Linked DNA regions of Homo sapiens: region 1 is linked to region 2. Evidence: promoter capture Hi-C in 16 types of primary human blood cells and fetal thymus (Javierre and others, 2016). All regions are on one chromosome and are shown on one strand. Each heading gives the region's core, a stretch centred on a gene start or on the middle of the fragment in contact. The rest is flanking DNA. Distances are from core to core; before and after follow the strand shown. Region 1 holds the start of KAZALD1 (Kazal type serine peptidase inhibitor domain 1). Region 2 overlaps HIF1AN (hypoxia inducible factor 1 subunit alpha inhibitor).

Region 1 (5,225 bases), core at 651-3,150, 510 kb before region 2:
TTCCAGATCCCCCTTCCCCTTTTCTAAACAGGCCCAGTTCCCAAAGGAGGAAAAGCAGCCGTTCCCTCCTCAGTACCCCCTGGGGGAGTCCTGCGGCAAGGCAGAGAACCTGAAGCTGGACTTGTGCGACAGGCAGGAAGCCTGCAGGAGTGGAGGAAATTGCTGGGACCCCCACGGGGTGTTTGTTTTCTGGCTGCCCCAGCCGAGCCAGACGCAGAGCCCGGGCTCAGGAAGTGAAAGTTACTAAAGCTACCAAGGAAAGCTAGAGGCCTGAATGGACCCCAGTCCCCAGGGATAGAGAAAGAACTTCCCGCTCCCCTTCACTAATCCCTAAAAGCAGGAGAAAGCAGAGAGGTGGGGAGACTGGGTGAACAAACTGCTCTAAGAATGAAACGTGATTGCATCTCACAGGAACCCGTCTTGCTGCCTGGACTCCACTGGTCTGGGAAAAGTCGGGGGGGTCTCTGAGCAAACCATAGGTTATGTGCCTGCGCCCTCAGAGGACCTGTCTCTCCCTGCCAGCCAGCTCTGGAGCTTTCACGTGGTTCAGCGAATGCAGCTTGCTGACGAAGCCCGGGACTCCCACTCCACTCCACCCCCCACCCCCACCTTAAGGTGGCAGCTTTTATGAACCAGTAGCGAGAGCAGGGTTTTATACTGGACTCGAGGCCTCTATAGCCTTATCTTTTTTGCTCTGCTGGCCAGAGACCAATGCTGTCAGGGGTCGGGGAGCAGTGCCTCTAGGAAACCTAAGTGCTGGGGTGGGGGCCCCGGGCCATGCGTACCCGATTCGCAGGGCCCCGGGTGTGCCACAGTGAGGTTGGCATCGGGCCGAGCGCGGGCCGCCTCCTGCAGGCGGCAGATCTGGGAGTAGGTGTGACCGTCGGACCCGCAGAGCGGACTCTGCGAACGACAGGCACACAGAGGTTCCGGCACCTCTCCGCGGCTCAGGTCGCCGCCTGTGTCCAGCCGGCACTCAAGCTGCTCGCCGCAGTGCCCGTAGAAGTGAGCACTGGGGTCCAGGTCGCAGAGCTGGCCCTCGAGGTTGGCGCATTCCCAGCAGCAGCCGCACGCGTCGCGCACCCTGCCCGCCAGGCAGCCCCGCGGCGCGGCGCACTCTTCTGGCCGGCAGGGAGCGCAGCCCTCGCCCTCCGCTAGCAGCCGCATCCAGCCGCGCCGCAGGTAATCTGGGCCTGGGGATGGCCTTGCGCCGGTCGGGGGCGGCGTCAGCACCACCAGCAGTAGCAGGAGCACAGGCAGCGCCAAGGCAGCTGCGGGCCGCGGCGGCGGCAGCATGGTTAGCGGGAAGCCCTGCGAGCACTCGGGGCATCAGCGCGTTCGGGCACCCTGCCAGGAAGGGAAGCCAGGTCAGGAGGTCAGAAACAGGGCCTGTGCCGAAAGACCAACCTCACTGCTTCTTGTACCAAAGCATGACACTAGCATCGCCCCCTCCCCTGCTACCAAGTAGCCTCCCCCAACACACAGGCCTAGTGACCCTCTAGGGATTATCCAGTTATGGCAGTTAGCAATCAGTTGGGCTGTTCTTGGGAGGGCTGGGAGTGAAGAGAGGTGAGGAAAGGGTGATAAGGCTCAGGCGCACGCACACCCACCACCAGCACCACTTCCGTGCACCACCCGACTCCGATCCCTGGCCCCTGAGCATCCTTGCCCAAAGAGAATGGGTGGCTCCAGAAGTAAGAAGCTGCTAATGGGGGGTGAGAACTGGGGGGGCTGATGCCGCCTCGCTTATGGCCTGGGGCACAGAGTGCTCACCTAGTGTCCGGAACTAGACCCTTCGCAGCAGCCGTGATTCGAGTCCGAAAGAAAAGGTTATGGAAAGAAAGCAGAGGCGCAGTCAGCCGGGCCCGCCGGCCACCTCTGCTCCGTCCTGAGGACTTCTGAGAGAGCCCACGAACTTGGATTCAGAAAGCAGCTCCTCCGGCCCCCTCTCTCCGCCCCTCGACTTCGCGCACCCGCCTTCCCACTAGTTCTAAGGCTGCCAATTTTATGTAGCCGCATGGGACCCTCCCGGGTCATTTCCCCCAGCCTGGCCCAAAGTCACAATGCGAGCAGAGGAGCCGTAACCAGACACCGAGGCTGGGAGAGAGGAAGGGGGTGAGGACCGGAGGCGGGGAGTGGGGGTAGGAGTTTGGCTGGGAAGCTCAAAGTGTTGGCTGAACGGCTAGGCCCTGTCCCATCTGATTTTACAGTCCCTGGCGTCGGCGAGGGCAGCTGCATAAGGGGGAGGCGGCAGGAGCTCTGGTGCCAAGTCATTTTACGTCGATGTCGGGGCGCTCCTGGAGGGCAGGACCAACCACCTTCGTCTCCCCGCAGCCCAGGGCTGGTTCCCGGGAGCGACCGCAGGCTTGCCCACCCAGCTGCCCCACCAAGGCGCGGACAGACTGGGCGCCTACATCCGCCTTCCCTCATCTGGCCTCCTTCTTCCTCCCCACATCCGGCAGGTGCTGCGACCCGCGGGTGAGCCGGGTGATTCGAGGTCGGAGCCGACCAGCGGCCGCAGGGAGAGGCGGGCTGGCGCCTCCCCGGCGGGCGTCCCTCGGGTCGGGATTACAGGTTACGGTTGCGAGGCTGGCAGGGCCGGAGACACTCGGCCTCGCGGCCGCCACCACCGCCACCGTGGCACTTTGGGCCGGGGGCGGGGAGGAGAGCATTCCTAGGGGCCCGCCAGCCAAACCCGGGTCGGGCAGGCCCCGCCCCGGCCGGCCCCAAGCGGCTCACAGAAGCCTTGGCGCAGTCCAGCTCGCGGGGGGATGGGCGAGGGTGGGGGGCAGAAATAGCAATCTGCAGCCGGCAAGGGGGCGGCACTTAGTCAGGCTCCGCCCACAAGACCCGGCTGCCGTCCCCGCCCGCCTGCGCGGGATCGACTCCGCATGCGCACTGGAGCCTCGGAATACAGCCAGGACTCTCCCGTCGGAATGCGCCCCTAAGTTGGGCCAAGCCCATTCATTCAGGGGCTCCCGAGCCACGTAGGCGCCATCCCTGGCCAGAGGGGTTCTGAGGAGGTGGGCAAGGGCAGACACTCTCTCCCGGTCTCAAATTCGAAATAGGGACTAGAAGGGAACTTCACGCGAGGCCTCGCAACTGTCGCGAGAATCAGAACAGGAAATCTAGGAACCGAGAACACTAAGAGCCCGCGGATTTTAAACAGGAAAAAGAAAGGGCGGAGCAAACTCTGGCGGATAGTTGTGAGTAATCCCTGGTCCTTGGAATAAGTGTCGACCTGAGACAGAAGGGGAACTGTCAGAGAGCTGCCGGAGACCCTGAAAAAGGCCAGAGACGGGGACTTGTGGGGCTGACGAATGGAATCACCCAAGGAGAGGTCTCTGACTCTAACAAAACACCTTGGGGACGGAGCTCCTTGGCTGGGATACAGAGCAGACAAGTCCGGGATCTTTTAGTGAATTGCTGCCGGCTTCTAAGGCCTGGAGCAGATATTCAACAACAAACTCCACGGACCTAGAAACTCTCCACTTATCCTACTATTGTAGACGGTGGCTTACTTTTAGTCTTCCCTATGCTCTAAGCTTCTGGTAGTAGGAATCGTGCCTAACTCACTACTGTATCTTGTGAACCTAGCCCCGCGCCTGGTGGCACGTCAAATTCTCGGTAAATATTTGTGGATTAAATGTGAAAGACTGCCTGAGTGTTTAACCTGGATTTTCTGAGTCGCTGATGGAGAACAGTAGGTAGACGGGGAACCAGCGCCCTCTGGTGGGCTTGTGGTTCGTGACGAGAACATGCTGGAACCGTGCATCCAGGTAGGCACAAAGATAATAAAAGGGGATCCGCTGTTATTAAGTAGAGATTTTGTTACATTAAAACCCTACATACCGTAAAAATGCTTTTAGAAGGGAGTTTTTTGAATAGGACACAACTTGAAAGTTTAGATACATTCCCCGATCCTCAACATCCCATACTTTATCCATCAAGGCTCCAAAATATTCAGTAACACCTATGCGCATCATACATAGTAAAGAGATAGCAAATGATTTTGCGTATATATACTTTGAAAATGTTTACTCGGTTTTGTGCAAAACAGGCCAAAGGGAAGGGATTTTCTAGCCTAGATGATGTGAATACTGCTAGGGAGAGGAGCCAGGTGGCAGCATCCTTTGCATTTAATGAGGGAGACTAGATCCAGATGGGCAGGGTGAAGTTGAAATTTGTTGAATAATAGATGGTCCCGCCTCTTTTTTCCCCTTTTCCTGCAGATGCTTGTATTGAAGAAGGAATGAGGTATAGAATGTAGTTTTCTTTCCACTGTGAAGCCCTGTGTTCACAAGATTATCATACGTTCACTTTCAGTCACTGACACATGAAATAACTGAAGTATAATGACAGAATGATGAGCTGGAGTGTGGTGGTGCACGCCTGTAGCACCAGCTACTTGGGAGACTGAGGCAGTAGGATCCCTTGAGCTCAAGGGTTCGAGAGACCATGTCTCTTTAAAAATAGAAGTTTAGGGCCAGGCGTGGTGGCTCATACCTCTTAATCCCAGCACTTTGGGAGGCGGAGGCGGGTGGATCACCTGAGGTCAGGAGCTTGAGACCAGCCTGGTCAATATGGTGAAACCCTGTCTCTACTAAAAATACAAAAATTAGCCCAGCGTGGTGGTGCACGCCTGTAATCCCAGCTACTCAGGAGGCTGAGGCAGGAGAATCGCTTGAATCTGGGAGGCAGAGGTTGCAGTGAGCCCAGATCACGCCACTGCACTCCAGCCTGGGTGACAGAGCAAGACCCCCTCTCAAAAAATAAAAATAAAAAATAGAATTTTAAAAATAAAAGAGTGAAAAGAGCCCTATACAGATGAACAACAAAAGATGAAACAAGGCATACAGTCATTGTTTAATTTGGTAAAGAAAAGAAATTACTTCAAATGATCCACATATTTCAACCTGTCACTTCACAAACCCTGTTTTGACACAGCTGGTGAAAATAGTAGAGTTGCAACTTTGAGGAAGAAGCAGGAATGAAACAAATGGTCCATACTGACCTATTAAAGACGGATATGGAGAAATTGTGCTTCCTGTGAATATTAGAATTGGTTGATTAAAAAAAAAACCTCAACATAGATAATTAAAATGGAATACTTTGTAGCTACCAACTATGACAAATAGGTAAACTCAAAATAATGTATGTAGGAAACAAAGTGAAAAGTATGTATGGAAAAATAAGGTTAAGAGAAAAGAAGAAGTATATGGATA
Region 2 (5,403 bases), core at 2,494-4,993:
TTTCTCACAGAAGTCTAGAATCCCATCTAGGCTGTCAGATACCTTGTCTCAGTGGCAAATTTCCTTGGCTGTCAAAACACAAAATGTCTTCTCATCTTGATGATTTCTGCTTTTTATTTCTAGGTGAACCACTGCTCTTAAGAGTGTTTGTTTTTTCAAGAGATGGGGTGTCACTATGCTGCCTAGGCTGATCTCAAACTCCTGGCCTCAAGCTTCCTCCTGACTCAAGCCTCCCAAAGTGTTGGGATTACAAGTGTGCACGACTGTGCCTAGCAACTCTTAAGTTTTTCAGATGAAACCTGGTTGAATGCAGGATTGCTGTAACAACTTTGACTTCTGGTCACAATTCCTAAGGTTCTCCTGACAGAATGCTGGCCTCCTCACCCTTAGTTCAGGGTCTTGTCCTCCGCTCCTCATTGCCTATCATCGTTTAGCTTTCCCCTCTAGAACACCCATCTTCTTTCTTGAGACTCTCACCTCTTAGCATCACCCTTTCTGCACCACACCCCCATGCCAACGATTCCCAGAGGTCCCTACTCCATCTCCAGTACTGTGGAGTCCTGCTCCCTTCTCCATGATTCTTCCCCATTCACACTCATGCTCCCTCTTACAGAACTGATCTCTCCTCAGAAAAGGGAAATCTGATGTTACTTGTTCACACTAAGACATGCACAGTTGAGTCCTCCTGTTTATGCTGGGTAAACGATGCTTCCTAAGAAGAAATGGAGGAAAAGAAACTAACATTTACTGAGCACTTACTAGGCACTAAGTTCTGAATTAACTTAGTTAGTTAATGAGTTGTCTCATTCATTCTCAATAGCCACATAAGAGGACCTATTAAGAAATCCAGGGCCAGGTGTGGTAGCTCGCACCTGTAATCCCAGCACTTTGGGAGGCCAAGGCAGGCAGATCACCTGAGGTCGGGAGTTCGAGACCAGCCTGACCAACATGGAGAAACCCCATCTCTACTAAAAATACAAAATTAGCCAGGCATGGTGGCGCACGCCTGAGTCCCAGCTACTCGGGAGGCTGAGGCAGAATTGCTTGAACCTGGAGGAGGTGGAGGTTGCAGTGAGCCAAGATCACGCCACTGCACTCCAGCCTGGGCAACAAGAGCGAAAACTCCATCTCAAAAAAACAAACAAACAAAATCTCCCGAAACCCCCACTCCCAATATCTCAACAACCAGCATTTATATAGTGCTCAGTTTACATAGTATTTCCACACACATTGGCAGGTCATCATATTATTAACCAATTTTTTTAAATGAGGGGACCGAAGCATAGCGAGATGAACACCCCCAAAGGCACCCAGCCTGTGCAAAGTCCACTGACATTCTCACTTAGGTTCACTGGCCAGAAGCTTGTGTTCTCTCCACTCAGCCACACTGTGTCCTCCACAGACATCCTCCTGCCCCATTTCCTTTACTCTTCTGGGAATCAGATGGCAACCCAGAACCAAGGTCTCTGTTCCTGTTCCTCAAGACCCTGCCCTATTAAACCCTTTCTGTCCCCAGCCCAGCACTTCATGGACTTTCAGTCCCTTCCACAACTTTATCTTTTCCATCTTGCTTTTCCTGCCCCAGTCATCTCTTCTGTGATTTCACTTCAAGCACCATTATCTTGAGAGTCAGAGTAGGATCAGAAAAGCCTTGCTGCTGTAGTCTCTCCAGACACTAAGGAAACACTTTTCAGAGACACTTGGTCTTCATAATAAAACATTTTCCTGAGTGCTTGAGCCAGGTGTTTTAAAAACATTATCACGAGCCCTTATAACAATGCTACAAGTTATGTGCTATTTCCTACCCCTCACAGAGGAAGAGGTTGAGACCCAGAGACACTGACTTACCTAAGGTTAGAATTAGCTAGTGGCAAATGGTGATTCAAACCCAGGAGTCACCTCCAAAGCCTCTGTTCTTGTCAGTGCATCACACAAACCCTTGTGAGAACAATGACCATGCAGACTGTAGGTGGGGTTTTGTTCAAATATGATCAAAAATTCACAATTCAAAAACTTGGAGGCAACGTTCTTAAATCCATGGTCCTACCTCTAGACTAGCAAGGCAGACTCTGACAATCTCTACCCATCAGTAACCTCTGACTCTTACTAGCATGACAGCCTCTGTGACAATCTCGTCTCCTGCATCCTTGTGCACATCCCAGGGTCTCCTTCTTGCCTTCTGACTGTGCTGCTGGCTCATACAAACCTTCAATGCCTCTTTAGGAACTGTCCTTTTATCTCCTTGGGGAGCAGCAGCTCCAATGTCTTATTTTCACCCAGTATGTTTCAGGTATTTTTAGTATTGTTAAAAATATTTTTGGAAGGTCATTCCCCACTGATGGCATAGGTGATAGTATCCTTGTAAGCATCAGAGGTTACTGACAGGGGTAGGAACTGGTAACACAAGCATGAGTTGACACTTATACCTCTGCTCTGCTCAGGAGCTGACAACTAGATATGCCCTGAGACTAGAAACAGGAACTTAGACAGAAAGCTAGATGGGGAAGAGAGGTAAAGACTGAGAGACACAGAAAGACTGAGCCCTTGCTATGGACCGGTCATTCTGCTAAGCCTTACCCTGACAATGTAAATGATGTCTTCCCCATACATATAAACAAGTCAAGTTTCGGGCAGTTTGTCCATTTGCCCAAAGTCATGCAGAATGGCAGATCCAGGTATGCAGACTCCACTCTCAACCACTACACTATATTGCACTATATATATTCAAGAGGTAATAAAAACCTGGCCCAAGCTTAGCTTAGATGATGGGTTAAGGAGCACAGCTTTCCTGATAGTTCTGACCTCAATGACCAAGTGAATAGGTTTTAAGTAAACGGAATAAAACAGCAAAATTAGCTAGAGCCAAAGAGAAGGTTTCCAAGGCCCAGAGCCAGTTATCTAGAAGGAAAGACGTGACTGCAAGGTGACTACAGAATGGCCTGTAGCCCAGAGGGATGGGTTGGCACAAGCTAAAGAGGTATCTTCTTCACCCACAAAGCTAGGGACCAGGGTCTGAGGCAAGAGGATCTGAGTATTTATAGAGAACTGCAGGGAGACTTGGCTTATAGTGAGGAGGAGAGGTGGCTGGGCGTGGGGATAGACCCAAGAGATTAATGGGATCATGATGTGGAAAGGGCTGAGAATTCCAGCCAGCCATAATACATCTCAGGCTGAAGTCTGAGTAGCTTGATTCAACATTTCTTCCAAGTAGGGTCTGGCAGGGTGGCTCCAGAGGCCAGAACACAAATGAGAACGGTGGAGGGCTACAAATAAGCAAGTCCAATCTACGTCCACTCCAGGACAAATCTGAGCCAGCAACCAAGACTTTCAGATTTCTGTGACTAACCAAAGGGTTTTCTTCTTGGGATCTACTGTCTCACCCATTCCCTGGAGTAAGGTACGACAAAACCCTTAGGCATTGGGAAGCAGTGTTTGTTTTGGACTGCTGGACTGGAAGAAAGAGAAGCTAAGGGGGAAATCCCCCAACCTCTGGTTAATTATTCATCTTCCACATATCAGCTTGGACTTATCACTTTCTGCAGGAAGCCTACCATAAAAAACTGGACATAGTGCAATGCTTCTCCTCTATACACCATAATTCTAACTGCCTGCCTGTCTCCCCTACTGATCTGAGAGCACCACATGGGGACGAACTAATACAGTGCCTGGAACAGAAGTGTTCAACAAATGGTAGCTATTAACATCCCACTCATATTTTTCTGAATTTTGATTGCCCTTCTCCCCTAGAACAATCTTAACATACTCATAATTTTTTTTTTTTTTTTTTGAGAGGGAGTCTCACTGTAGTCACCCAGGCTGGAGTGCAATGACGTGATCTCAGCTCACTGCAACCTCCGCCTCCCAGGTTCAAGTGATTCTCCTGTCTCAGCCTCCCGAGTAGCTGGGATTACAGGTACCCACCACCACATCTGGCTAATTTTTGTATTTTTAGTAGAGACAGGGTTTCACCATGTTGGCCAGGATAGTCTCAAACTCCTGACCTCAGGTGATCCACCCACCTCAGCCTCCCAAAGTGCTGGGATTACAGGCGTGAGGTAATCCTCCCAGGTGTCTGGTCCATATTTGTAATTTTTAAAAAATTATTTTCAAAAAAAATTATTAAGAGAAGGGGTCTCACTATGCTGCCCAAGGTTGGTTCGAACTCCTGGGCTCAAGTGATCCTCCTGCCTCAGCCTCCCGAAGTGCTGGGATTACAGGTGTGAGCCACCACACCTGGCCAACACTTATATAATTTAAATACATGGAAAGGCATGGACTAAAATTGAATCAAGAGGGGCCTGATTTGACTGCTATTACATTTCATGGTGTGAGGAGACAACAGCTTCTCCAGGTATAATAAGGACTCATTCGGCTCCACGGCCTCTCACACAGTGCAAGGGGAGCTCAGACCTGAAACCTTCTCACCCAAGGCCCTGGGCTGGTAGTACAGCAGTAAAGTCTGGCTGCCCAGGCAGAAGAGGCATAAGACACTTCCTGTTTCTCTTCCTCTAGGGTGAGTTTAGGTACTAGACTCTTCTGTCTACCCTCAACTCAATATGGTTTATCTAAGGTGTTTCTCGTTTTTCCCTATGCTTTTCTTGAGAGAGAAAGAACCACTGGAAATCTGTTTAGAGATCACTGAAACCAAGTTTCTGAATAAATCACATAATAAATATAACCACCACCACCACAGCCATTTATTAAGTGCTTGCCAGGCACTGTGCTAAAGCTTTACAAACATTGTTTCAGTTATTCCAACAACCCTGAGGTAGATATTTTCAACATGCCTCCCTCCACCCATGTTATTATAGTTGAGGAAACTGAGGCTCAGAGAGGTTAAGTAAATCAACCAAGGTCAAACCCAGCTGGTAAGTAGTGAAGCTAGAAATTCAAACCAACTATATGTGACTCCAAAATCCATGCCTTTAAACACTATCCTAGATTGTTTACCATTGAAAGTTAAAGGACATATGCTCCTTCCCAAAATATGAGAATAGATTTTCAGTGGGAAAGCAGGGGGGAGCCCATATGTAAATTCTTTCATCAGCTATGGGACTCAAACTCTTGGAGGAGTGGAGAGATAGTCTGGGTATAAGCTGACCACTAGGTCCTCTCATCTCTCCAGCTGCCAGGGCCTTTCTCATTAAGATCTCTACTCCTGACATCTGACTACGCAATATACTGTTTCCCTTTCAGCAACCACTGGGATGCAGAGGTCAGGCACATTTGGTGACACAGAGCCAAAGACACCTCAGAGAAATTAGGAGACACTCAAAAAAGTCCACCACCCCTGAACTACTGATCCCTAAGGCACACAGATGCATTTAGATGGAAACCCTCCATGAAGGGGACATGTTCCACGTCATGTTTGATGCCCATCACCACCCTGCAAAGGGGATATTG

What was found. The method cuts DNA at HindIII sites, captures the fragments that hold promoters and counts their contacts. A CHiCAGO score of 5 or more calls a contact.
Region 1: a contact is called between the fragment with the promoter of KAZALD1 here and a fragment that was not itself captured in region 2, in 1 of 17 cell types (naive CD4 T cells). The highest score is 5.9, in naive CD4 T cells.

What each region holds. Positions count from the first base shown.
Region 1 is chr10:101,058,664-101,063,888 of GRCh38, reverse strand. KAZALD1 (Kazal type serine peptidase inhibitor domain 1) reads right to left here and starts at 1,900. Exons shown (of 5, transcript NM_030929.5): 1 at 1,774-1,900; 2 at 786-1,347. The coding sequence starts at 1,296. LOC107984262 (a long non-coding RNA gene) reads left to right here and starts at 3,138. Exons shown (of 2, transcript XR_001747569.3): 1 at 3,138-3,779; 2 at 4,233-5,225. RefSeq lists silencers at 1,186-1,235, 2,416-2,835 and enhancers at 1,148-2,036, 2,963-3,257. The HindIII fragment of the contact is 11,916 bases long and covers 1-3,547 here.
Region 2 is chr10:100,553,191-100,558,593 of GRCh38, reverse strand. HIF1AN (hypoxia inducible factor 1 subunit alpha inhibitor) reads right to left here. Exons shown (of 8, transcript NM_017902.3): 8 at 1-5,403. Among named protein-coding and RNA genes, the nearest start is that of HIF1AN, 20 kb to the right of the region's middle. The HindIII fragment of the contact is 1,977 bases long and covers 2,755-4,731 here.